Regions from separate parts of the Homo sapiens genome. Here regions 2, 3, 4 and 5 are each linked to region 1. The links are contacts of gene promoters, found by promoter capture Hi-C in human tissues and cell types (Jung and others, 2019). All regions are on one chromosome and are shown on one strand. The core of a region is centred on a gene start or on the middle of the fragment in contact, and the rest is flanking DNA. Distances in the headings are between cores, read along the strand shown.

Evidence for each region. Contacts are between HindIII fragments. The study calls those that stand out against the background at their distance.
Region 2: a contact is called between a fragment that was not itself captured here and the fragment with the promoter of SNX30 in region 1, in 2 of the 25 tissues and cell types used here (IMR-90 fibroblasts and lymphoblastoid cells).
Region 3: a fragment that was not itself captured here is called in contact with the fragment with the promoter of SNX30 in region 1 in 2 of the 25 tissues and cell types used here (adrenal gland and mesendoderm cells).
Region 4: a fragment that was not itself captured here is called in contact with the fragment with the promoter of SNX30 in region 1 in 1 of the 25 tissues and cell types used here (IMR-90 fibroblasts).
Region 5: a fragment that was not itself captured here is called in contact with the fragment with the promoter of SNX30 in region 1 in 1 of the 25 tissues and cell types used here (IMR-90 fibroblasts).

The regions. Positions count from the first base shown.
Region 1 is chr9:112,747,464-112,752,834 of GRCh38, reverse strand. It overlaps SNX30 (sorting nexin family member 30), which reads right to left and starts at 2,075. Exons shown (of 9, transcript NM_001012994.2): 1 at 1,678-2,075. The coding sequence starts at 1,833. It overlaps SNX30-DT (SNX30 divergent transcript), which reads left to right and starts at 2,270. Exons shown (of 1, transcript NR_186503.1): 1 at 2,270-3,951. RefSeq lists enhancers at 387-1,306, 1,307-2,228 and a silencer at 1,498-2,317. The HindIII fragment of the contact is 10,773 bases long and covers 1-4,374 here.
Region 2 is chr9:111,910,775-111,916,145 of GRCh38, reverse strand. UGCG (UDP-glucose ceramide glucosyltransferase) reads right to left here. Exons shown (of 9, transcript NM_003358.3): 2 at 1,400-1,541. Among named protein-coding and RNA genes, the nearest start is that of UGCG, 17 kb to the right of the region's middle. The HindIII fragment of the contact is 3,334 bases long and covers 308-3,641 here.
Region 3 is chr9:112,010,676-112,016,046 of GRCh38, reverse strand. No RefSeq gene overlaps it. Among named protein-coding and RNA genes, the nearest start is that of LINC02977, 27 kb to the left of the region's middle. RefSeq lists enhancers at 3,087-3,326, 3,367-3,416, 3,657-3,796, 3,907-3,956. The HindIII fragment of the contact is 6,094 bases long and covers 1-5,348 here.
Region 4 is chr9:112,115,300-112,120,670 of GRCh38, reverse strand. The region is part of intron 6 of SUSD1 (sushi domain containing 1); the gene reads left to right. Among named protein-coding and RNA genes, the nearest start is that of SUSD1, 57 kb to the left of the region's middle. RefSeq lists an enhancer at 1-177. The HindIII fragment of the contact is 3,368 bases long and covers 505-3,872 here.
Region 5 is chr9:112,137,021-112,142,391 of GRCh38, reverse strand. SUSD1 (sushi domain containing 1) reads left to right here. Exons shown (of 17, transcript NM_022486.5): 5 at 1-72. It also overlaps the pseudogene RNU6-855P. Among named protein-coding and RNA genes, the nearest start is that of SUSD1, 36 kb to the left of the region's middle. The HindIII fragment of the contact is 5,677 bases long and covers 1-4,813 here.

The DNA of each region.
Region 1 (5,371 bases), core at 826-3,325:
TGACTGCAACCTCAAGAAAGGCCTAATTCAGAACCACTCAGATTGTCCCACAGACACTATTTCCAGGTGATAAGTTTTGGGGTAATTTGCTACACAGCAATAGATAATTAATTCAGTGTCCCACACAGAACTGAGAAGGAAATGAGGTTTAACCCCCAGTTCCTACACTATTTTAAGACCAATTTTTGTCGATAAGAAAGCAAATTTATTCAGTTATTCAACATTTTTTGGAGACAGGGTCTCACTCTCTTGCCCAGGCTGGAGTACAGCGGTGCAATCATAGCTCACTGCAGCCTTGAACTCCCAGGCTCAAGCAATCCTCCCGCCTCAGCCTCCTGAGTAGCCTGGATTACAGGTGCATGCCACCATGCTGTGTGCGTATGTGGAAACGGGGTCTCGATATGTTGCCCAGGCTGGTCTCAAACTTTTGGTTCAGAGCAATCATCCCACTTCAGCCTCCCAAAGTGCTGGTATTACAGGTGTGAGCCACTGCACCTGGCCTCCATTAGCTTTTTTAATTTTCCTGTTCCTAATGCTTTGGAACTTCACTCCCTGCTTTCACAAACCCTCTGCAGAAGGTACATCAAGTCGCACTCTCTAGTGATTTTAAGTGCTCAGTGACCTTCTGACTGCAAGGAGGGCAGGTTATATTTTCTCATACTCCTTTTTCACTGTACCACATGGTGTCCCCTCTAACGGGAGAAGAAAGTTAGGTCCCCTGCTCCCATTAATATTGGGACAAGGGGGAATTCATTTAGTATTTTACTAGGGAGAGAAAATCTTGATCACAAGACCTGAGAACAATTCTAATTTCTGCAGTTAGTGACTAAGTGACGGCAGGAGCGGGGATACAATCACTGCTCAAGTCTCCTTCACAGCTGAAATGGCCATGGGGGTAGGGAGGAGGTCGTCCCTTACCCCTGCCTGGACTCTGCTGTCTCTCCAAGCAGCAGGAGGGTTGTGCTGCTCTAAGAAAATCTGGAGCCTCCCTCCGTACAAAGAAGGTCAAAGGGCGAGCTTTCTTTCCATCAACCACAAAACCAGCCTCTGCCAAACCTAAACAGAGTGGTAGGCCGTCGGAGGTGAATGGAGCCCCAGACAGAAAACCACAACGAGGCTCTCCTCCCGCCGCCGGCTGGGGTCTGAGTCAGGTGACTCCTCAGGACAAACAGCAAACCTAAACAAAGATCACTCCCCACATGACTGACTAGGGGGAAGAAGACTCTCGCTGTAAGCCCAGGGCTGCCCGGTCCCAGCACGGAAAGCCAGGAACTCCTGCTTTCTGTGCAGTCTCGGAAACTGGAGGAGCTACAAGTTATGCAGCAGCTCAGCCTGCAGGGATGCACCTGGAGGAACTCGGAACCCCATCCGAGGACACAGGCGCCCTGCCCTGAACACACGCCTCCCGCTCCAACACGCAGGCTGGACCCCTCCCCACCAGCTGTCACCGGTGCTTGCGACCAGTCACAGGCAGCGAAGCCTGTCCCTCTGCGGCTGCGACCCCGCGGAGGCGGCAGAGGAGACGCTTCGCCGAGGGCTCCGGGGCCAGGACACGCCCGTCCCCCGGGAAGGGGCGGCAGGGTGGGCGCGGCCCCAGGCCCACGAAGGCTCCGGATCCATCATCCCCCCCACGGGGAGCGAAATAAGCCTCCCACTCCCCGGCCCCAGGCGCCCCACCTTGTCACCGAAGCTGCGGGCCATCAGCAGGTCCGGGCTGGGCGTGCTGTCACCACCCACGGCCTCCTCGCTGCTGGAGCCGGCCAGCGGGTGCGGCATGTCGCGCAGGGAGTGGGGCCCCGTGGACGGCAGGGCCTTGGGGGGCCCGCCCGCCATGGCGCGCACCGCTCGGGACGCGCCGCCGCCGCTTCCTCCTGCTGCCCGCCGCGGCGAGCTCCCCGAGCACCCCGGGCCGAGCCCCGCTCGGCCGCCGCTTAACCCGAGGCCTTGCACCGGCCGTGCTGGGGGCCGCCGCCACCCGCCGGCTGGTCTCTGCCGGCGCTCAGACGCTCCGCTCCGCGCCGCGCGCCCCCGCTCCGCGCCCGAGCCCGCCGCGGGTCCGCTGGCAGCACGGCCGCGGCGCCCAGCCCACACAGCCACACCGCCCACCCGCTCCGGCCCCGCCCCCGAGGCGCCGCGGCCGCCCGGGAGGGGGCGGGGAGGGCGGGGAAGGGGCACGTGGGGAAGGAAGGACGGAGGGAGGGAGGGAGGAGGCGCGGCCCCGCCCCCGCCCGGCAGGAAGTGCGCCCTGGGCCTCTGCGGCTGTCCTCCCAGTGTCCAACGTTGCCTCGCGGAGGCCGCCGTGCGGAGCAAATGTCTAACGGAAATCAGAGGTGGAAAAGAGGTTGGAGGAGCCTGTTCCGTTCCACCCGCGTTTACTGATGCGCCCACCAGCAGCCACGCTTGGGGCTGGGGGCTTTGAGGACACGCACGTGAGTCAGGGTCTTCTGGCCTCTAAGGCACGCGCAGGAAGAACCCTAGATAGACGGAATTACGACCCATATCGGAAGAATAGCATAAAGGGCGACAAGGCTCAAATGAGCTAGAGGACATCGGGTGGGGAACCTGGAAGGGACTTCAAAGAGGCGGTGTGGGGAGTCTTCAGGCTCACTCTGAGGTCCCCATTGTGGCTTGCTTCTGCAGCTGAGCTGGATTTGTGTAAAGTCAAACCTCAGAACAGCGAGCATGAGTAGAGAGTCTCAAATGATATGCGACTCTTCAACTCACACTTTGGCCGAAGAGACTTTTGAAAGAACCATGAGGTTCAAGTTATTCTTCATGCATTTGTGCTTCCTTTCCAGGCCTTGGGCTGAGCTGATTCTCAGCTTTATTTGCTGGCGTGGTGCAAATAGTCAAGGTGTTACTTCCAGCCCTTTGGGGTGTAGGTTCACCTCCTTTTTCCACCTTACCTGTCCCTAGATCTTCTGTTTCCAAGGCCAAGTCTTTAAAGGGTTTTCAGTCCCTCTAGCAAAGTAATGGGTAGGGAGGCTCATCGTGAGGGACCACATTTTCCCTACCCATTCCAAACTCAAAGGTTTGCCTAGCCTTACCTGCTAAAAGGTGATGACAGATGTTGACTCTGGGATTCACTAAGGCCTCTACCACAGTTTTCTCTAGAAACAAATAGAAGAGAATGCAGAGGGTTGAAATCTACCCAAAATATCAGTCAGAGACTCTGAGCTTCAAAGACCTTCCCCTATTTCCCCCAATGTAATTTATATAGGGTTGGACCCTTAGTCCTCAAGCTATCATCTTTATCTCCTCCACATAAGCCTGCCTTGGCTGGGAAAAGTAGCATTCAAAGGGCACTGGGAACAATTTTAAATGCTGCATCTAAGGAATGCCAAGTTCTGGTCCTCTTGGAGTTGGATTAAAATTGTTAACACTTTCACATTCAAGGGCTGCTTACAACTACTACAGACCCTATTATCTGTTCTTCTGAATTAGCATGAAAATGAATAGCACAATATAACTAGAAATGAGTATTTCTAGAAATGAGTATATACATCTATAGATGTATAACATCGGTTTTTCTTATTGAATGGTGCTACTTATTTTAACAACCAGGCTGCCTTAAATATAATGGACATCCGTATGGATTAAGACTCTATACAAGCTTTCTCTTTAGTACACCAGGGGAAAGTGAAAAAAGAACCACATTTGAATTCGGCTTTGTCACTACAAGTGGGTGACCATGAGCAAGTTACTAACCTCAGTGAACCTGTTCCTAACCTAAAAAGGAGGAGAATGGAGAGCAGGTAATAATACCTTATGAGATGGTTGTGAGAGTTATATAGCATTCTTTATGTCATAGTCCTAGCAAAGTGCTGGCATAAAATAGGTGCTCCCTAAATGTTAATTACCTACCTTCCTTTCCCTTTCTGTCAGATTTTCTCTACTATTCTTATGAAATAATAAAGAGTTTTTGTAATTAAATATGCTTTACTATTCTGAGTAGGGTCTGGTTGAATATACATATATATACACACACATACACACCAGGTAGGGTGCCTCACACCTGTAATCCCAGCACTTTGGGAGGCCAAGGTGGGAGGATCACTTGAGCCCATAAGTTCAAGACCAGCTTGGGCAACATAGTGAGAGCCCCATCTCTATAAAAAATGTAAAAATTAGTCCGGCATGGTGGCACATACCTGTAGTCCCAGCTACCCAAGAGGCTGAGGTGGAAGGATTGCTTGAGCCTGGGAGGTTGAGGGTGCAATGAGCTGAGATTGCACCACTGTACTTCAGCCTGGGCAACAGAAGGAGACCTTGTCTCAAAATAAAAAAAAATATATATATATATACATATATATGTGTGTGTACATATATATGTGTGTATATGTGTGTGTGTGTGTGTGTGTGTGTATTGACCTCCAAAGTCCTCCATTTGCTCAGTTTAGATTGGAGTACCACTTTTCTATGCTCCCACCAAAAAAAGGACCCAGACCCAGAGTTCCTAAAAGGCCATATGAAATAGTTGATTACAGTTTATTTATTTATTTTCCAGTTTCCTGGTTGGTCGATAGCAGCTGGCCACAATATCCAGTGGGTAGTCATCAAAACTAAAGAAAGTGAATTTGTATGGAAAGTATTTTGGTAGAAAGTTTCCACGATGAAATTTAGCCCAGCCCTGCCCATTCATATTCACCATTTCCTGTGGTATTTCAGTGTTCCTTGTGGTGGGAAATTGTCACTGAAATAATATAAGTGTCCCAGAGCATGTGACTTTGCTTCTACTAAAAGGTTTTGTTTTTTTTTTTTTTTTTTCTTGGAGACAGGGCCTTGCTCTGTCGCCCAGGCTGGAGTGCAGTGGCGCAATCTCAGCTCACTGCAACCTCCGCCTCCCAGGTTCAAGCGATTCTCCTGCCTCAGCCTCCACAGTAGCTGGGATTACAGGTGTGTGCCACCATGCCCGGCTAATTTTTGTATTTTTAGTAGAGACAGGGTTTCACCATGTTGTCCAGGCTGGTCTCAAACTCATGACCTCAAGTGATCTGCCTGCCTTGGCCTCCCAAAGTGCTGGGATTACAGGCTACTAAAAGTTTTAAAAGCAGCATGGTGGTAAGGAGGAAACGTGTAACGTTTCTCCATCAGAGCAGAAGGCTGTGGTGTTTGTTGGAACTTATGGAGGGAAGCTTGGATTTCTAGGGTTGAGCTCTGAGGAAGATAGTAGATGTATGTGTGTGCATGAGGGGCGAGGGAGGTCCCCAATGCCACCAGAACCCAAGAACACAGCATGGAGCCCTCCCAATTCATAAGGAATCTTAGACACTTAGGCTGGCACCTTTCAGGAGACAGGGCTTTGGGCCCCAGAATTTAGTACGCTTACCAAACAAATCCTATCGACCTCACTAGCAAGCGTATTGGGGCT
Region 2 (5,371 bases), core at 725-3,224, 840 kb after region 1:
TTACAATTAATTTTATTTATATCTTTCTCAATTACAAAAGGCTAAGTTTTACCATTTTTTAGTTTGAAAAAACAAGTATATACAATTATATCTTATTTAAAAATTATATATTTGATTGAAGTTAACACATGTATTTAATTCAAATATCTAAAATTATTAAGCATATAAACACACACAAACTAGAACATATAATTTTTTTGCTTCAAAACAGCTTCCAATACTCCAAAATTGGCTTCTAAACTCCAAAACTCCAAAGCAATAATATAAAAACACTAAAAATACAACTGAATGATACTCATGTCTACCTACTTAATAAGTGCTGCATTAAGGCTATCACATCTGTGTCTTCTCTATTCTTTTCATTGGTGCTACCGAGAAAAATAAAGGCTAAAAGAAAAGAAATAAGAGCATGAAAACCAGTCACCATAAGAAGTGTAGTGCGCATATCATCTTCCTTCTGATTATTTGAGCTACCCTGTCCAAAAAAATTAAGAGGGACGACTCTCCCAGTAGCAAAAACAGCTATGGAAAAACTGAGGCAATAGGGTAAAAATTGAGGCAAGTGAATAGAGACCGCAAAGGGAAAACTAAACTGTACTGAAAGTCAAGTGGGTAGAAGCTTAAAGACACATTCTTCTCACAAGTGATCTGTTACCACCAAAATGCCCTTTCAAAAGCAGTCTCAAGCAATTTAATACAAAGCTGCTGTAAAGCTAAGTACAAAAATCAAAGAATATTAAGTTATCCTAAGAAACTACAGGTGGACTACTAAAGCAAAGTGATAAAAAGAATACTTTCATCTCAAGAAAACTGGAAGGTCTCCAATTAAGGGAGTACACTGAGTTTACAGATATACAGATTATATAGATAAATGGTATAAGCAATACAATTAGCTATTAAAATCAGAACAGTAAGGAAATTAAAAATGAGGTAAGATGAAACCCTACAGTACCACTAACTGTAATCTATTCTTGGCTCAAAGCCAGTTTCTCCGGAGAAGTCACGTTTAGTTCTGGCTGTACTGCAACCCATTTCAGACCACTAACACTGCTTTCTCCCTCTCCTTGTCTCCTCTTCCTATTGTTCATATCCAGCTCTTATGGAAGAAAATTTTTATTTTCAAACTACCAGGCACTTGACAATGTCTGAGTTTCAGAAGGTTTACTCAGGGATCTCTACTTCACACGGACATATAGGTGGTTAGAAAGGGAATTTACACCCCTTCCTCAACCTATTTCTGTTCTGTGATGACTACTACTAAAGGTTATATTTTATGAGGCCAATATCATCATGAATTTTTAATACCTTCACCTTATACAGTGTTAAAATCCCTAAATGTTTATCATGAGGGGAACAAAACAAAACAAAACAAAACAAAAAACCGTAACACTGAACTTACTTTGGGATAATCCAATTCAAAGAATGTTTCCAGGTTGTTGATTAAGTTAGGATCTACCCCTTTCAGTGGTTTCAGAAGAGAGACACCTGGGAGCTTGCTATAAGGCTGTTTGTCAGTTGCCTTCTTGTTGAGGTGTAATCGGCTAAAAAGCAAATGATATAAAAATTATTTCTATAGAATACATTAGTGTCAAATCAAAGCACTGACAAGCTATCAATAAATCCCTAAATTCTAAGTTAAGATTTTTAAAACTTGACATCTTTCTAAAAGAGGATCTAAACATGAAGGGAAGTAGAACCAGGTAAGCATGGCTTTGAATGCGGTCCAACACAAATTCATAAACTTTCTTAAAACATTATGAGATTTTTTGCGATTTTTTAAAGCTCATCAGCTATTGTTAGTGTATTTTATATGTGACCCAAGACAATTCTTCTTCTTCCAATACGACCAAGGGAAGCCAAAAGATTGAATACCCATGATGTACTACTCTCTGACTATTGCTATACTCACAGAACTATGCCAGGCATAGCGCAGGCATTTCAATAAAATACATGGTGAAGAAATGAATGGCAGTGTTAGCCCAAAGATTAACTCCTCTTCCTCTTAAATTGCCACTGAAGTGGCCACAGAACTATAAAAACAGGTAAAATAAAACACCGTCTGCAGCAGAAAATTATGAAAGGATAACCAGAACTTTCTGAGAAATTTCTTTGCAGTGGGATAATACACAGTTAAAAGAAGTGTCAAGCAGTCTGCATGGCAAGCAAGATAATGGGACAACTGGAACTCCCAATATTAATAAGGTCAGAATGGCAGGGGTAGAACAGAAGGAAACTGAAAGTAAGAAAAAAACTCAATGATGAGAAAAATGTCTATTAATGACACTGGAAGATATACCAGTGCCACCAGTTCATAGATAAGTGACCAAATGGCCAACGTTCTCACTGCTTGTCCATTGCAAGGATGCTGCAGCACAGCAGGGCTCCTAATGAAAGAAGCAATGCCACACAGGTGTGGTGGCTCACACCTGTGTAATCCCAGCACTTTGGGAGGCTGAGGCGGGTGGATCACTTGAGGTCAGGAGTTCGAGACCAGCCTGGCCAACACACTGAAACTCCATCTCTACTAAAAAAAAAAAAAAAAAAAATTAGCTGGGCGTGGTGGTGGGTGCCTATAATCCCAGCTACTCGGGAGGCTGAGGCAGAAGAATCACTTGAACCCGGGGGTGGAGGTTGCAGTGAGCCAAGATTGTGCCGCTGCACTCCAGCCTGGGTGACAGAGTGAGACTCCGTCTCAAAAAAAAGAAAGAAGCAATGCTAGAGAAGACAGAACGTGCCCCAGTTAACATCAGGCTGTTGCAACAAGATGCCATTCAATACAGTGGTGAAGTTTCTAAAGGAAGCCACTGAAGCCTTCCTCCTACTTCTAGTAAATATGTGACAAGTACTTCTCATAAACAAGTCTCCAAGCATTCGACAGTAATTAGGCACTAGAACATCATGGGTCCATCTGCAAGATATTCTAAGACACATGTTCTTCCACATTTTAACATCTCTGACATCAATGGTACCTTACAATTGCTGCCAGGCAGATGGCAGCTCTGACTTACTGTGAAAATCAACCAATGAGAACTTCTAGATGATCAAAAAATACTTGCATCAATGCATCTTGATTTGATAAAATCCACTATTAAACTGGGAAAGACTTCTGGAGGGACACCGGTACCACCACCCAGACCACTTAGCCATGGGCTTGGTCTCTAACTAAGGCAGGTGTGTGCTGTAGCAAACATCTAACGTTTTAGATAAGGCCATACAGTTTTACACACACGTGCACACACGCACACACACACACACACCAGGTTTACAATGGAAAAACTTTAAAACCAACAAGAAATTTAAAGAACAGGGTGGTATCAATTTCTGATACACCAAGTACCAGAAAATACTGGAGCACCATCTATCGCAGTGCTACTCAAAGTGTGGTCTGGTCCAGCATTGCTTTTTACTGGTTTGCAAGTGAGAAACAATTGAGTGAAACCTTTTAGAAACTTGTATAGCAATTTAACATTGCCATGACATCAAGCATGTGATCAGCAATTTATTTTTATTGTAGTTTACCAAAGTATTGGCTCATGGCAGATTGGAATTTTTTTTTTTTTATTTTTTTAAGACAGAGTTTTGCTCTGCGACCCAGGCTGGAGTGCAGTGGTGCGATCTCAGCTACTGCAACCTTCGCCTCCCGGGTTCAAATGATTCCCCTGCCTCAGCCTCCCAAGTAGCTGGGATTACAGGCATGCACCACCATGCCCAGCTAACTTTTTGTATTTTTAGTAGACACAGGGTTTCACCATGTTGGCCAGGCTGGTCTCGAACTCTTCATCTTAAGTGATCTGCCCGCCTCGGCTTCCCAAAGTGCTGGGATTACAGGTGTGAACCACTACAGCCAGCCAGATTGGATAATTTTAAAGAACAACTGCTTTGCCATAGATAGTTTGGAAAATATTGCTCTACAGAGTTCATCTGGAGGACCAGACAGGTAAAACCACGATCTAAAACGCATATAACCACAAAAGTAATCACTATTCTATTTCTAACAAAATAGCAGACTAGATGCCTGAAACCCACCAGGTAAAGAACATCTAGACTGCTGGGGAAAAAAGTTTATATTACACAATTAATTGATTCAACAGGATATATATATATATATATATATATCCTGTTGAATATATATATGTATCCTGTTGAATATATATATGTATCCTGTTGAATATATATATATCCTGTTGAATATATATATATATATATATATATATATATATATATATATATATATATATATCCTGTTGAATATACACATATGAGATAGGGTCTTGCTCCGTTGCTCAGGCTGGCATGCAGTGGTGTAATTATCTGCATCTCCCAGGCTCAAGCGATCCTGCCACCTTAGCCTCCCCAGTAGCTAGGATAACAGGTACACTCCACCACACCAGGCTAATTTTTTTATTTTTTTATGGAGATGGGGTCTCACTATATTGCCCAGGCTGGTCTTGAACTCCTAGGCTCAAAGAATCCTCCTGCCTTGGCTTCTCAAAGTGCTGGGATTACAGGCATGAGCCACCACGTTCAGCCCCTGAACTGGTAATATACTGATATGGTTCAAATCACTAAAAATATTAAGAGGGTCTGATAAAAGAAATCTGTCACCACTGGCCCCCCATCTGCCTGTTTCCATTACTGCTTCCCCAGCATTACTAGTTTCTTGTCCTTCCAGAGGTTTTAAAAATGCATATACAAGTCAAAATATATACACACATTTATGGTATATATGAATTATATATGTACATATTCATAAACTTGTCTCTCTTCCTTTTTAATACAAGTGTAGTAAAAGCATGTTTTAAAATACATAATTGAACCGTTAGGACAATAAAGAAGAGTCTCTAAGGTCAGAAATGAGAAAAAAACCTCTTCAGTGACTGAGTGCTAGAGTCCATGCTTGCCTCCTGACCATCTACTGGTGACCTGGAGATGGAGAGAAGCCTGAGATAAGAATGACAGGACAACTGTTCTGAGAGCCTTGGGTAAATCTGGACTCCCTGAAAGGCAAGCAGAAAAATCCTGGTCCATAGAGGGAAGATGCGGATGCTCTCTATCTTGGATTCAGTCCTCAGTGAAATAGAATAAAAGAAAAAAGTCTTGGCCAGGCACAGTGGCTCATGCCTGCAATCCCAGCACTTTCAAAGGTGGAGGCAGGTGGATCACTTGAGGTCAGGAGTTTGAGACCAGCCTGGTCAACATGGTGAAACTCCGTCTCTACTAAAAAATACAAAATATGGCCAGGCATGGTGGTGTGCACCTGTGGTCCCAGCTACTTGGAAGGCTGAGGCATGAGAATCCCTTGAACCTGGGAGGCAGAGGCTGCAATGAGCAGAGATCGCGCCACTGCACTTCAGCGTGGGCAACAGAGAGA
Region 3 (5,371 bases), core at 1,052-3,551, 740 kb after region 1:
AAGCATTTGCTCCCTTTGCTTTTGAAAGAGCACTTGAAACAGCAATTCTGGATGAACCCTGCATGTGGCAGTGGTCTTCATTTTTGTGGTATGAAGGTGTTTCTTATTAATCTACAGGGTGGAAGGAGGGCAGGAAATTAGGCTACTTAGCTGCATGCTCTCTCATTCCAGGGAGAACCATCTTTACTGCTTTTGGTCTCAGGTCTCTCACTGTAGCAACCAGTCTGGTAGATTTGTGACTCTTTGGCAAAGTAGACAGGACAAGATAGGGGTTAAGAGCGTGATCTCTGGGGTCCCTCCACTAAGGTTGCACCCTGACTTCATCACTTACCAGTTGGGTGGCTTTGGATGATTCACCTAACATGTTTTGCTTCCTCATCTGAATAAATTGGGATGGCAATAGCATAATTCCAAAGGATGATTTTGAGGTTTAAATTATATAATCCATACTCCTGGCACATAGTAAATGCTCATTAAATGCTAACTGCTCTTTTTATTTTTATCATCATCATCATCATCATCATCTATGAAAGGGGATTGATGAATTTATAGAATCATTTCTGCCAGAGCCCAACAAAGTGGCATAACAATGTTTGCTCTCTCCTGCCCTAGAACTTTCTGCTCACAATGTTTCCACAGACCAAACACACGCTAGCTAATAATAGGACAATCACAGATCAGTTAATGAAGAGTACGTGTATTATCGACAGAGTGGAAACTGAGACTTTGTTCTGTTTACTCATTCCCCTTATATATCATAAAGGTCAAGTTCTAACCACCTCCAGAAATAAGGTGCTCCGTGCAGAGCCCTCTTTCCCTAATCTCTCTATAGCTCATCTTCCCTCTTCCTTCTACAGCCCTCTCAGAAGTCTCCACATTTCCCAGTTCTCACTTCAAATTTCCTGGAAAACTCAGCCTCGTTCTAGGGGAGATAGAAGTTGTGCCCCTGGGAACTTCAAAATGCAAATTTAACTTCACCTGACTGCTAGTGCAGGCATCCTCTGCTCAGACCATCAGCTTCAAAGAGAGGAAGGGACCCTGGCCCATCAGTCGGGGTAGATGATGAATTCCCCTCTGGATTAATTTTCCCTCCAACAACAGCCATGGCTGATTCAGTCTCACAAGTTCCTTACGCAGCAAACTCACTTCATCATGGAGCTGAGGAATTGGCAAACTTCTTCTGGCAAGAGCCAGATAATAAATATTTTCGATTTTGTAGGCCAGGTGTTCTCTGTTGTAAGTCCTCAAGTCTGCCATGTTGCACAAAAGTAGCCACAGATGATACCTAAATGAATGGGTGTGGCTGTGTCTCAATAACTTTATTTATGGACACTGAAATGTGAATTTCATATGATTTTCATGTCATGAAATATTATTCTGCTGATTTTCTCCTCAATCATGTAAAAGTATAAAAACCATTCTTAGCTTGCGAGCACACCAAAACAGCTGGCAAACTGGAATTGGCCCATAGGCTGTTTGTTCACTGACACAGATACAGCCACATCACTAAGCGGTGTTTGGTCCTGCCTTGCTGACCTTTTTCAGTATCCTACTTGTGGGGGCCACAGCCCTGGTGGTCTCATAACCATACCCAGTCCTTCCCTCCTACCTGCCAAGCTTTCTGCTCAGTTCTTGTCTTTTGACTGAAGAGTACAAAATTATTCTCCTTTATTTTATTCTTTATGGATTTAGTTTTTATATATGTCATGGTAAGAACGGTTGATATGGTGAGAATATATTCTCTTCCCAATTATTCCAGCACAATAGCACCAATGTTTATTATATTGAATGGAAGTTTTCTTCCTGGGAAATCTGTGATGGCTTTTAAAGAAGTCTTATATTGGTCAGGCGCGGTGGCTCCTGCCTGCAATCCCAGCACTTTGGGAGGCCGAGGTGGGTGGATCACTGGAGGTTAGGAGTTTGAGACCAACCTGGCCAATGTGGCGAAACCCTATCTCCACTAAAAATACAAAAATTAGCCGGATGTGATGGCAGGCACCTGTAATCCCAGCTAGTCGGGAGGCTGAGGCGGGAGAATCGCTTGAACCCAGAAGGCAGAGGTTTCAGTGAGCCGAGATCACGCCACTGCACTCCAGTCTGGGCAACAGAGTGAAGCTCTGTCTCAAAAAACAAACAAACAAACAAAACAAAACAAACAGAAAAACCCTTATATTGAGTATTAGGATCTGTTTCTGGGCTAATTTGTCTCTCCTATTAATCTCTGCCAAATCCTGTGTGTTCAACTTTGATTTTATTCTTATAGTTTTATGATATTGTATGAAACTATATCCCATAGTTCTATAATTTTATAATTTTAATAGAGAGCAGAGCTAGTTTTCCCTGTTGGGCTTTTAGTTTTCAAAATTGTTTAGCTATTTGAAGCAGAATTCAGACTGACTCCTTCTATACCATCCAAATCCCTCTCCTCTTCCTCACTAGGGGCTGAAGAAGCTGAACACTCAAGTTCCCAATCTCCTTTGTTGCTCTGGGCAGACAGAAAGTACAGTTCCAGTTAATTAAGCAGAAGTGAGGTCTACTAGGGGAGTTTCTGGGAAAGTTTTTACTTCGCTGATACCGTGAACAACTGTGGCTGTTCCTTCTTTTTCCCCCTCTTTCTGTCTTGAAAGCAGATGTATGCTAACCATCTTGAACTTAAGAACCATTTTGTCAAGTTAAAAAAAAAAGTGAAGGCCGGGTATGGTGGCTCATACCTGTAATCCTAGTGCTTTGGAAGGCCAAGGTGGAAGGATTGCTGGAGCCCAGGAGCTGCAGGCTGGAGTGAGTTATGACTGCACCATTGCACTCCAGCCTGGGTGACAGAGCAAGATCCTGTCTCTAAAAAAAAAAAAAAAAAGAAATTAAGTCAGTTAAGCCAGGCGGCTTTGTACAGCTCTGTGGAATGACAGAACTTATAAAATGTCCTTTCTCTAGAGCTGTGGGGAAAATGAGGCAAATACTGTATGGGCAACCTCCTGAATGTGTTTCATTTATTCATCTATAATAGCAGGGCTTGGATAAATCTTTCCTATATGCTATGTGTGGGGCTAAGAAATGACCTTATTGTCAAAGGTTGATGAATGCACAGATACAGGGTAAGAAGCCAATCTGGAATGATGGTTTCCATTTTCCACTTGAGAGTTTAAGCCTGGGCAGCAGATACCTGCTCTGTGAACTCTTTACATGAGCAACTTCCCAGCACAAATTGTTCTCATTTCCCAGGCTCACATGTCCACCAGTCCCTACTTTCTGAGGATGACTTTTTCTGTCTCAGATTCCCTTGTGTAGGGAACATTCTCTTCCAGTGAACCTGGCTACCCCACTGGAGCTTGTGGCTGTAGGAGACATGCTTGGAGCCAGTTGTTACTACAGGGGCCTGAGATAAGCCAAGGGTACCAGATGACTGTGAATTACAGGCACTGTTGAGTGTGTGCTTTGAGACCAGAAAGAGGAAAGCTTTTTACTCAAAGCAGAAGTAAAACAGGCTTTTGTGGGGGAAGTGGAAATTAGCTGGTAGGAGTTCTTTGTACCACACATATAAAAATAGGAGTGCTCCTGGAGAGGAGTGCAGCTGGCAGGGACCTGTGGTTGGTCAAAGTGATCAGCAACGTTGCTTGCAAGCCAAAACCATGAGTCACCTTCAGTGGAGCCTGGTGTCCTGAATCCAACACTTTCCTTCTTTGTCCCCATAACTGTGACCTCCCTTCAGAGGTTTTCTGAGGAAACTCAAGACCTGTACCCATTGAAATATGGAGGGACAGCCTGACCTCTTAAGCTTAGAATGTTGAGGCCTGAGCTTGCTCTGGGGCTAGAAAGCTCTGATCCTAGGCCGGATAATTTACTGAGTTATTTGTCTTTGTTTTCTTTGTACATTACTCAGCCTTCAGGGCAGGTAGCCAGGACTTTGAGCTTTCAGGGCCCAAAGAAGAAGCCTGCACATCACTTTCCGTCCTGACTTTTTCCTCCTTCACTCTGAGGGATTTGAGCATGCTGCGCTAGGAGAAGAAGTGGTAGAGTGTTTTTGAGAGACACAGTCCTTAAGATTATTCCCCAAGGGAAGGAAAGGATATGCACAGTTTTTAAAATAATGGGGCTCTGTGGCCCACCCTCCATAGAATCTCAGGAAGATGACAGGGTGTCCGGGAGCCATGACTGCATGTTGAGCCTAGAAAGGTCTTTCTGACTCTGGGTATGGAGGCTCTCAGCTCTGGCAAAGATTTCCAGGGGAACAACAGGGATGTCCAACTTCACTCTATAAGCTTGGCCAGCAGGCAACTTGGTGGAAACCTCGTAGATAAGGGGTTGGCCCATAGGTCAAATCTGGGCCGTCGTCTGTTTTTGTATAACCTATGAGCTTAGAATGGTGACATTTTAAAGTGTTTGGGAAAAAAAATCATATTTTATGACCCATGCAATTATATGAAATTCAAATTTCAGTGTCCATAAATAAAGTCTTCCTGGGATACAGTCAAGTTCATTCATTTTCCTACTGTCTACGGCTGCTTTTAAGCAACAATGGTAGAGTTGAGTGGTTGTGACAGAGAGCTGCTTGGATTGCAAAGCCTAAAATATTGACTATCTGTTCTCTACAGAAAAAGTTTGTGGATCTCTGATGTAAACCAATGACCAGACATACCGCATGAATGTTTGGCTTCACATAAACACTCCTGGCCATTAGCTCTGGGACTGGGCATGGGATTTGGAGGTGGGGAAGAGAAGGCAATCCTCTCAACCTCTGAAATTAAATTTCCCACTAGCTGAGCAGAAAGGAAGCTCAGTGTCATGCCTACCATAATTTAAAGTAAGTAAAGCCATATGAACTTTCTGGAACATTCAGGTTTGTGTTGCAAATTGATTCCTATCATGCTTTATCTCATAAGCCTCCCTGGCAAAGACTTTCTATTAGACAATCATGGCTTTTGTTTTACTGGTTCCATTATGGAAGTAACACCCTTAGGTCTCCTCAATCTCAGCGTGTCCAAATCCTACCATTAGAGCCCAACTTAAACATTCTCCCTCCTCTCTGCCCCTAGTAGTCTTGACCTGCTTTTTCGACTTGCAGGTCCACCTAAGATTTTTCGGCATAAACTTACTTTCAGATATTATGACTGGTTTTCCTCAGAGTCTTGGACAATTTCTCCCAAATTAGAAAGTTTTGATGGGATGTCTCCACCCTCTGAATCTTCCCTGGATTCTGTTGCCCACATCACATTATGGTAATTCATTTACAGGCATACCTCAGAGATATTGTAGTTCAATTCCATACCACTCCAATAAGGCAAATATGGCAATAAAGTGAGCCATACAAGTTTTTGGTTTCTTAGTGCATATAAAGTTATGTTTACAAGGGTGTGGTGTCTCTTATCTGTAATTC
Region 4 (5,371 bases), core at 939-3,438, 630 kb after region 1:
TGTGGCTCCAGCTGCAGCTGTTTCCATGGGTTTATGCAAGCTTTGATTTAAGAAAAGAAAAGGCATTCTCCCTGAGAGCTGTGATCTTTCTGTGAGGAGGCCTTTATGCCCTCAATCAGGATTGGCAGCTAAATTCAATTTCCGCAGATAAAGGGGATGATTTACATGCTGATTAATTCATGGTACAGTGCAGATGATCTCTGGGTGGGTAGGTAGGAGAGGCTTCTGGTAATGTAGTGAGAGCTGCTGATTACCATGGCTCTTGCTCAGCTACCCCTCTTCTTTTTTCTTTTCCCTGTTTTTCACTTGTTACCTATTTCTTCACTCCCCTCATCCCAACTGTCTCTGTGTATTTTGTTGTTGTTGTTGGAGATGGAGTCTCACTCTGTCACCCAGGTTGAAGTGCAGTGATCACAGCTCACCACAGCCTCCAACTCCTGGGCTCAAGCGATCCTTCTGCCTCAGCCTCCCAAGCAGCTGGGACTACAGACATGACCCACCACGCATGGCTAAATTTTAAAAATGTTTTTTGTAGAGACGGGTGTCTCACTATGTTGCCCAGGCCGGTCTCAAACTGCTAGCCTCAAGCCATCCTCCTGCCTCTGTGTATTTTATATTTCCCTGTCTTCGTGTTCACGTTTGGCTTCCCCTCTCATCTTTTTCTACTTTTCTGCTTCTCTCTGAATGCCTCCTACCTCTGTCCTGTTTTCACTGTTCATCTTCCTGTTTAGTTCCAAACTGGGTAGAATAATTTATCTTTACCTGGGTTGTTTGTAAGGAAGCCACTAGTCTTTGGGATTAGTAGCACAAATCGTATGTGCTTTTAATGGGGTGTGAGCTCTATCAAGCTGGTGGGACTTATTTTTTCCTGCCCCCTCCTTCCCCGCCAGGCCAGTTTGGACTGGAAACTCCAGACAGCTGGGAATTAGGCAATCACTTTCGTGTCTGGAAAAACCCCAGGTGGAAGCTTGATGTTAATGAGTCGGTTTACCTCAAGATCAAAGAGACTGATTCATTCTTGATAAGACTTTCCCTGGCTTCCATTCTGCACAGGCCATTTGGCTTTTCATGTTTAGAATCTGAGTTAATGATTATAAGGCTGACGCTCACTCACTCCACGCTCTCAGAAGGGTAACATCTCTGCTGGAACAGAGGCTGTTTATCGCTAGGATCCTTTCTGTGCCTCTAAACTGCTCTGGGCACTGCTCTGATGCCTCCAGGACTCCTGTTGGCCTCTGTCCCTTCTGTTTGGCTGGTGACCCTCTTCTCCAGCCCACTGGGTGCTCAGTTGCAGCCACACACATTTCAGATGGAACAGAAAGGTCAGCCGGAATAAATGGATACATTTACATAAATAGCCACATGGCCGGATGTATTGGAATATGTGAATGAGGTTTGGACCATCAAGCATTATAGCTACTGCTGGCTGAGCATGAACGTACACACCCAGGGCTCAGCTAGGGACCTTAATGCTCGATTTCATTTCATCCTCTTAAAACCCTTTTGAAGTAAGCTTTGTTATTTTCATTTCATAGATAAGTAATCTGAGACTCATAAAGGTTAAGTGACTTTTACATGGTCACTCAATAATTAGCAAATGGTAGAGCCAGGATTTGAACTGAGGCCTGTAAGCCCAGAAAGACCACATTCTTTCTCCTACATCAGTGTCTTCCAAGCTTGAATTATTTGTATACCACCCTGACACAATGTTTGCCATAATAAGAGTATTATTTACTTAGAGTGTTTCCTTAAACAACCTAACCTTAAATTTATAATTCAAATTTATTAAGGACAATATATGTGATCTCATGAGTTTGATGAAGTAGGTGTATTTTTCTGATATACACAAAAACTGATACATAACGAACAGATAAAAATGTATTCCTGGCTGGGCGCGGTGGCTCACGCCTGTAATCCCAGCACTTTGGGAGGCCGAGAAGGGTGGATCACCTGAGGTCAGGAATTTGAGACCAGCCTGGCCAACATGGTGAAACCCCGTCTCTACTAAAGATACAAAAATTAGCTGGGTGTGGTGGCACGCGTCTGTAGTCCCAGCTACTCGGGAGGCTGAGGCTGGAGGATCACTTGAACTCAGGAGGCGGAGGTTGCAGTCAGCTGAGAACATGCCACTGCACTCCATCCTGGGCTACAGCGCAAGACTCCGTCTCCAAAAAAGAAAAAAAGTATTCGCGTGCCACCAAAAATCATCCCAAAGTGTGCAATATATTTTACACTAACGTACTCTAAGCCATGCTACTCCTACTTATTTTATGTGAATCTAAGACTTCAAAGAAAGAAAGGAAACACATGAAAACTTTTATAGCCAAACATACATTTATTCAAGTAGGCACTGTGGGAAGCCATACCCTGATTTCTGTGGTGCTGCCATTATCATCATGTGTTTGCCTTGGAATCCTATTTGATAATGTCCTTTGGAGGTAGTTTATGAGCCGTATTAGAAGATCAGTTACATTCCTTTTGAAATCAGATGCTGTTTTGACTAGAAATGATGCTGAGCTTGCTTGACCATCTGTTTGGGTCACCTGGATTTATTCTCTATGACCTTTTGCTGTTTCCAAAAATAAAGAAAAAGGATATAAAATTGGAAACCAAGGGAGTACACTAGACCAGCCCCTGTCCTTGCACAGTGGGACTTCTGAAAGAGTAGTCTGGGCTCACTGTCTTATTCCCTCCCCTCCTATGCTCTTCTCAGCCTACTGGGGGGAAACCAGGCATCGAACACCCCCACTTCACTGTAGCATCTCACCAAGGTGACTGATGACTACCTAACTGCCAATTTCATGTTCCAGTTTCAGCTGTCATTCTTCTCAACCTTTCCACAACATTTAGCATTGTTGATCCTTTATCCATCCATTCAACCAGTTCAACCAAATAATACATAGTTTTTAGTATCTATATTTAAGGCACTGTGCTAGGGCCTGAGGATAGAGAGAGAAACATGGTCTTTGCCATCGTAAAGTTACATTCAGGAGAGGTGGTCATTATATAATGACTTACGTATTTAGTTACAAGTGTGTTAAGTACCACATACAGAAATACTAGATGCTAACAAAATACCAAAATACATAACATTATGTACATCTATATCTATATATACATAACATATATATGTACCTGTGTGTACACACACACACATAGAGTAAAGCAAAACAAAGGCTCTTACTTTATCACTCACTGAGACTTTCTCTCCCCAAATCCAGTGAGACTTCAGCTGGACACTGTGGGGGCCTCCTTCTTTTAAGCCAGAGAGGCCTCTGTGTTCTACAACTGGGCAGGCTGAGGGCCTGCTCTTCCCACCTCTACCCAAAGTCAAACCACAGATCTAATCCTGATGCCGTGGGCACTCCATGAGGGGAGAAAAGCCATGTGAGAGGAGAGAGGGAGATGGAGTTTGCACCCTCTGCCTTGACCTGCTCCAGGCCCTTCTTGGCTAGGGGATGAGGAGGCTGTGGGAGACTGGTGGGAAAGAAGGCTGATAATTTTCTTAAAAGAATTTATTTTTATTTTTTAGGGACAGAGTCTTGTTGTATCACCCAGGCTGGAGTGCAGTGGCACGATCTCAGCTCACTGCAACCTCCGCCTCCCAAGTTCAAGTGATTCTCGTGCCTCGGCCTCTTGAGTAGCTGGGATTACAGGTGTGCACCACCACACCTGGCTAATTTCTCTATTTTTAGTAGAGACATGTTTTTGCCATGTTGGCCAGGCTGGTCTTGAACTCCTGGCCTCAAGTAATCCGTCTGCCTCGGCCTCTCAAAGTGCTGAGATTACAGGTGTCAGCCACTGTGCCTGGCCTTGGAAGGCTGAGAGACACTCTTTCAAGTCCTTCCTTTCCTTCCTAGACATCAGTCACTCTACCAGCCTCCTGCCTCTCTTCTGCATTGCCTTTTTCCTCTGGTTCCCCCCTGGGTTTCAGTGTTTCCCAGTGTTCTGCCATTGGGCCATTCACTGTCTCTGTCCTACCTGCATATCTCACCTGCACCCATACCTTCAACTAACATTCACAGATCTATGACTTTCAAGAGTACTTTTTCCCTACATAGTCAGCAGATAACATCGTCACAGCCCAGTGCCTGGCATGGCAGGATGCTTGGCATTTGATAGCCATTCAGTTAGTAGTGAGCAGGGAATGAAAGAGCCCTGGGACAGCTCCAAAGAGGACTTCCAGAAATGTTTTCAGTTATCAGCACTATTGGAATGAGGGCATATAGTCTCCATTAAAAGGGCAGCATTAATGTAGATGTTGAATATCTGATTCTTTTATAAAGGAGTCTTTCCAACTAATTTGTAGGCACCTGGAGGGAAAAGCAACCAAACTTTGTTAAACTGCTCCCTGGGATGAAATATCTGACACCCCTATAATTGGATCTGGGTCCCATCTGTGCAGAGAGCATGGCACAGGCTGGAGGCAGATGGCATCTTTGAGATGCCATTTACAGTTGTCATAGTGAATGAGCAAGAAGGAAGGACAAGAAAGAAAACTCCTTTCTAATCTCTGCTTCGATGACAAAGGAACTGAGAGTAAAAAGGAAATTCGCTTTGCTGGCAACTCAGAGAGAAGATGAGGGCTGGGCTGGTGCCTTTTCTTTCTGGACCAGGTGGTGAGTTAGCATCAAAGGGATGTGTAAGTGAGCAGAGATGCCAAGAGCTCTGGGGCTTTGAAGGGCAGCAAAGAGGGTAGAGGCCAGAAATATCTGGGGCTTGTTCAGGCTGATAAAAGACTGGTACCAACATCATCTTTATGCTACCCAAGGGGGCGAACTGAAGGTCATTGTGTCTCTTAGGGTACCCATGCTCATAATTGGAGTATTTCTTTTCTTTTTTTTTTCTTTTTTTTTTTTTTTGCAATGGAGTCTCATTCTGCCGCCCAGGCTGCAGTGCAGTGGCACAATCTTGGCTCACTGCAACCTCTGCCTCCCAGGTTCAAGCAGTTCTCGTGCCTCAGTCTCCCAAGTAGCTGGAATTATAGGTATGTACCACCACGCTTGGCTAATTTTTTTGTATTTTTAGTAGAGATGCGGTTTCACCATGTTGCCCAGGCTGGTCTCAAACTCCTGACCTCAAGTGATATGCCCATCTCAGCCCCGCAAAGTGCTAGGATTACAGGCGTGAGCCACCGCACCCACTTGGCCCACAATTGGAGTATTTCTTTGATTTCAAATTGTGTGTGTTCTAGGGAGAAATACTGATATAGAGATCCAGGAATGCTGCAGACAGCCATAGGTGGCCTTTCTGGTATCTCGGCAGGAGTTTGCCTATTTTTCCCTCTCTGCCTCCATTGATTTTCACTTGCTAATAGATAACTTGGGCTTACCCAAGACCAGGTCATGTGGGACACAGAATCTAGGCATTG
Region 5 (5,371 bases), core at 726-3,225, 610 kb after region 1:
GTGTTCCAGAAGATACAGTTTCAAGCTGCACAGGCCTGGGCACATGGGAGTCCCCAAAATTACATTGCCAAGGTGAGTTTTCAAAAAATACAGGTTCCCAATTCATACCACCTTGAAACTGTTTTCATATTTTTCTCTAAATTTCAGTTTCAGGGAATAAATGAGTTAAGTAAACCTTTAAAATTCCTATTTGTTTCTCATAGATTTTCAGGTGATTTTCTTGATTTTTCAGGAATAGTATCATATCATCTGCAAATCATAATTCCATTCATAAATTTTTCTTTCTTTATAATAGTTATGTTTTTCTCTTGATTGATCACTTTGTATTTTTAGAACAAAGACTTAAATGGTAGTGTTGCCTTTGAATATTATTTTTTTATTCCTGACTATTAGGGAAATGGTTTGGGTGTTTCTTCATTCCTGATGTTAGTTTTTTGATGTTAGGTGTATATATATATATATATTCCCAGAAGTCATGTGGGAATGAACATATATATATACATATATATACACACACATATATGTATATATATACATATATATATAAAAACGTCATGTGGGAATAACATATATTATATATAATATACAATATATACAATATATGTAATATATTACATGTAATGTATTATATATTATATATTACATGTAATATATATTATATATAATACATTACATGTAATATATTATATATTTTTTATATATATATATAGTTTTTGAGACAGAATCTCGCTTTGTCACCCAGTCTGCAGTGTAGTGGCACAACCTTGGCTCACTGCAACCTCTGCCTCCTGGGTTCAAGCGATTCTCATGACTCATCCACTCGAGTAGCTGGGATTACAGGCACCCACCACTACACCCGGCTAATTTTTGTGTTTTTAGTAAAGATGGGGTTTCACCGTGTTGGCCAGGCTAGTCTTGAACTCCTGACCTTAAGTTATCTGCCCGTGTTGGCCTCCCACAGTGCTGGGATTACAGGTGTGAGCCACTGCGCCTGGCTGATATTTGGCATATCTAATCATGTCTACTCATATGGCACTGTGTGCCAAGTATTATTTTAAGCACTTTATATATGATGATGGACCACATTGTAGTGGTCCCATAAGATCATAATGAGACTGAAAAATTCCTATTGCCTAGTGACATCGTAGCCATCATAATGTTGTAGTGCATCACACTCACGTGTTTGTGGCATTGCTGGTGTAAACAAACTTACTGCTCTGCCAGCAAGTACATTACTGTATGTATATTACTGTATGTACATTACTATACATAAAAGTGTACAGTAATGTCCTAGGCCTTCACATTCACTCACTATTCACTCACTGACTCACCCAGACCAACTTCCAGTCCTGCAAGCTCCATTCATGGTAAGTGCCCTATTACAGGTGTATCATTTTTTTATCTTTTATTCTGTATTTTTACTGTATCATTTCTATATTTAGATATATAAGTACTTCTTATTGTGTTATAGTTGCCTACAGTAATCAGTATAGTAACATGCTGTGTGAATTTGTAGCCTAGGAGCAATAGGTATACCATACAGCCTAAGTGAGTAGCAGGCTCTACTATCTAGGTTTGTGTAAGTACACTCTGTGACTTCACACAATGAAGGAATTGCCTAATGATGCATTTCTCAAAATGTATGCAGATTGTTAAATGATGCATGACTGTAATTTGTTTAAGGTCACACAACTAGAGACAGAGCTGAACTTGAACCCAGGAATTCTAGTTTCAGAATTATTTTCAGCCACTTTGTTTTGCTGCTTCTGCTTTTATGGTGACACTGGCTTTTGGTTAGTTTTTTAAAAATTTTGGCTTTCTGTTTCTTTTTCCTTTTCCTTTTTCCTTTCTTTTCTTTTCTTTTTTCTTTTTTTTTTTGAGACAGAGTCTTGCTCTGCCACCCAGACTCGAGTGCACTGGTGCTCCTGGGCTCAAGCCATCCTCCCACCTCAGCCTCCTGAGTAACTGGACTACAGGCACGAACTACCATGCCTGGACAATTTTTGTATTTTTTTTTTTTTTGGAGACGGAGTCTCGCTCTGTCGCCCAGGCCGGACTGCGGACTGCAGTGGCGCAATCTCGGCTCACGGCAAGCTCCGCTTCCCGGGTTCACGCCATTCTCCTGCCTCAGCCTCCCCAGTAGCTGGGACTACAGGCGCCCGCCACCGCGCCCGGCTAATTTTTTGTATTTTTGGTAGAGACGGGGTTTCACCTTGTTAGCCAGGATGGTCTCGATCTCCTGACCTCATGATCCACCCGCCTCGGCCTCCCAAAGTGCTGGGATTACAGGCGTGAGCCACCGCGCCCGGCCCCAATTTTTGTATTTTTTATAGAGATGGGGTTTCGCCATGTTGCCCAGGCTGGTCTTGAACTCCTGGGTTCAAGTGATCTGCCTGTCTCTGCCTCCCACAGTGCTGGGATTCCAGGCATGAGCCACCACACTTGACCTGGTTTTCTGTTTCTCTGTCTACAAATATTATCATTTTATGTGCCTGTTTCCATCTGAAAAGTGAAAAAAAATTTTTTTAATTACCATTTTTCTAGTTTTTGGCTATATGTCCATAATCTAAAGGAAACATCAATCTATTCCCACTGTTTAGGAATTTCTTTTTTTTTTAATTGGAAATAAGTTATTTTTATCATGTCTTTTAGGCAGGTGATTATATATTTTTTTTCTTCTTTTAAATAACGATGTGGCCAGATGCAGTGGCTCATGTCTGTAATTCCAGCACTCTGGGAGGCCCAGGCAGGCAGATAGCTTGAGCCCAGGAGTTCAAGACCAGCCTGGGAGTGGTGGTGCATGCCTATAGTCCCAGCTACTTGGGAGGCTGAGGTGGGAGGACCACTTGAGCCTGTGAGGTTGAGGCTGCAGTGAGCCATGATCACACCCTGCCCTCCAGCCTGGGTGACAGAGCAAGATCCTATCTCATAAAGAAAAAATAATAATAATAATGTGTGGGTTATATTGTTAGATTTCCTGATAATGATCAGTACTAATTGCTGGAATGAATTAATCTGGGTTTTTGGTGTTTTATTCCTTTCATTTGGATTATATTTGCTAAATTTTACTTATAAATCTTGCATTGATATTCATAAGTGAAATTGCTCTATTTTCTTTTCCTGTGCCATCTTTGTTCAGTTCGGTATTAATGTTATTCTGAATTTTAAAAAAAAGAATGTAAAAATTTCCTTCTTTCTCTATTTCTGGAATACTACAAATAGAATTTTTAAAGATTTGGGAGATTTCACCTATAAAACCATCTGGATGTGGCACTATTGGAGAGGTAGCCCTTGGACTATTTGGACTACTTTTAAATTCTTCCTATACTTGCTGGTATATCTAATCATGTCCATTCTTTTTCTTTCCCTCTTAAGATCAATTTTGGTAAATTATGTATTTCTAGAAAATCATTTACTTCATCCAGATTTTCCAATTTATTTGTGCATGCAAAGAAGTGTAAAGCCTTCTAATTTGCTGTGGTTATATTTGTTTATAACTATTTATTGTAGTGAAATATTAGAAACAATCTCAAATGTCTAACAACAAGAGATTGGTTAAGTGAATCAATCCCTTAAAATGGAATATTATGTATCCAATAAAATTATGTTAGAAAAACAATATTTAAAAAAGAATATTTATTGCAGGCCAGGCACAGTGGCTCACACCTGTAATCTCAGCACTTTGGGAGGCCAAGGCAGGCTGATCACGAGGTCAGGAGTTCGAGACCAGCCTAGCCAGCATGGTGAAACCCTATCTCTACTAAAAATACAACAAATTACCTGGGCGTGGTGGCGTGCACCTGTAATCCCAGCTACTCAGGAGTCTGAGGCAGGAGAATTGGGAGGTGGAGGTTGCTGTGAGCTGAGATTGTGCCACTGCACTCCAACCTGGGTGACACAGCAAGACTCCGTCTCAAAAAAAAAAAAAGAATATTTATTGACATAGATAAGTACTAATAGTATGTTTCAGAGTTACAAATTCTATGAATAATAATCTTAATTTTGAAAAAGTTCCTATATACAGATAAGCTTAGAAAAATGTTTAGAATGCCATACATCAAAATGTTAATGGTGATAGTTTCCAATGGGAGGGTTTGGGATCCTGGACTTCATATATATATATATGTATATACACATATATATATATATATATACACATTTTTTTTTTGAGATGGAGTCTCACTGTGTTGCCCAGGCTGGAGTGCAGTGGCACAATCTAGCTCACTGCAACCTCTGCCTCCTGGGTTCAAGCCATTCTCCCTGCATCAGCCTCCCACGTAGCTGGGATTACAGGTGTCTGCCACCATGCCCAGCTAATTTTTTGTATTTTTAGTAGAGATGGGGTTTCGCCATGTTGGCCAGGCTGGTCTCAAACTCCTGACCTCAGGTGATCCGCCCACCTTGGCCTCCCAAAGTTCTGGGATTACAGGCATGAGCCACCGCACCCAGCCAATTTTTATATTTTATATACTTTCTGTATTGAAAGAAATTTTTTTAATGGAATGCTTAATGCATTTGCATGTCATACTTGCACAGGGATCATGCTAGTCTCTGTATCGTTCCAATTTTAGTATACATGCTGCCAAAGTGAGCATGATGGAATTTTTCACATATCAGACAAAGAAACCTGTTTTCATTTTGGAGAAAAGAGAAACCCTCACAATTTTCATTGAATTTATTGCATAATTAAGAAACCCCAGTGATGTGCATGGCTAAGTTAATCATTTTGATATTCTGACTTGCTGTGTAGGCTCTACACGCATTTTGATCATTAATTATCATCCTCAGGGGTTAAGAATTTCTAAAGATAACATTTTAGTTCTAAGATGATCTTTCAATGGATCAACTAAAATGCAGAACTTAGATTAAAATGTGCCATAGTGCCTATCAAAGAACGCTCTAAGGATTTACATAGGAAACCCCATATAAAACCATTTAGATTGCCTTGAAAATTAGCCATCATCTGGATTATTAGACTGAGAATGTAGAAAATTAATTTAGAGGAGAGTGCTTGCTGCATTTTCCCAAAGAACTGTTATTTAAAAGATCTTCGCTTCTTTTTTCCTTCTCTAATAACTGCTCCCTCTGCCCGCTGACACCTTCCTCCTCCTCCTCCTCCTCCTCCTCCCCTGTGTCACTACATGGCCTCGGTTTCTCACTGCTGTGCCTGCTCCTTTCTGAGCACATGGTTTCCAAAGTCCATTAATAGCAAAGCCTGATTCTCTAGAGGTGGCCAGCTCTTTAAGGTGTGTAAGTTTTATAGATTGGTATTATTTCCCATTTCACAGAGGAGTTTAAGGACCAGGATAAGGAAGTGACTTACTGTATGTCATGAGCTTATGCACCAAGATGAGAGCCCGATGCACTTTTC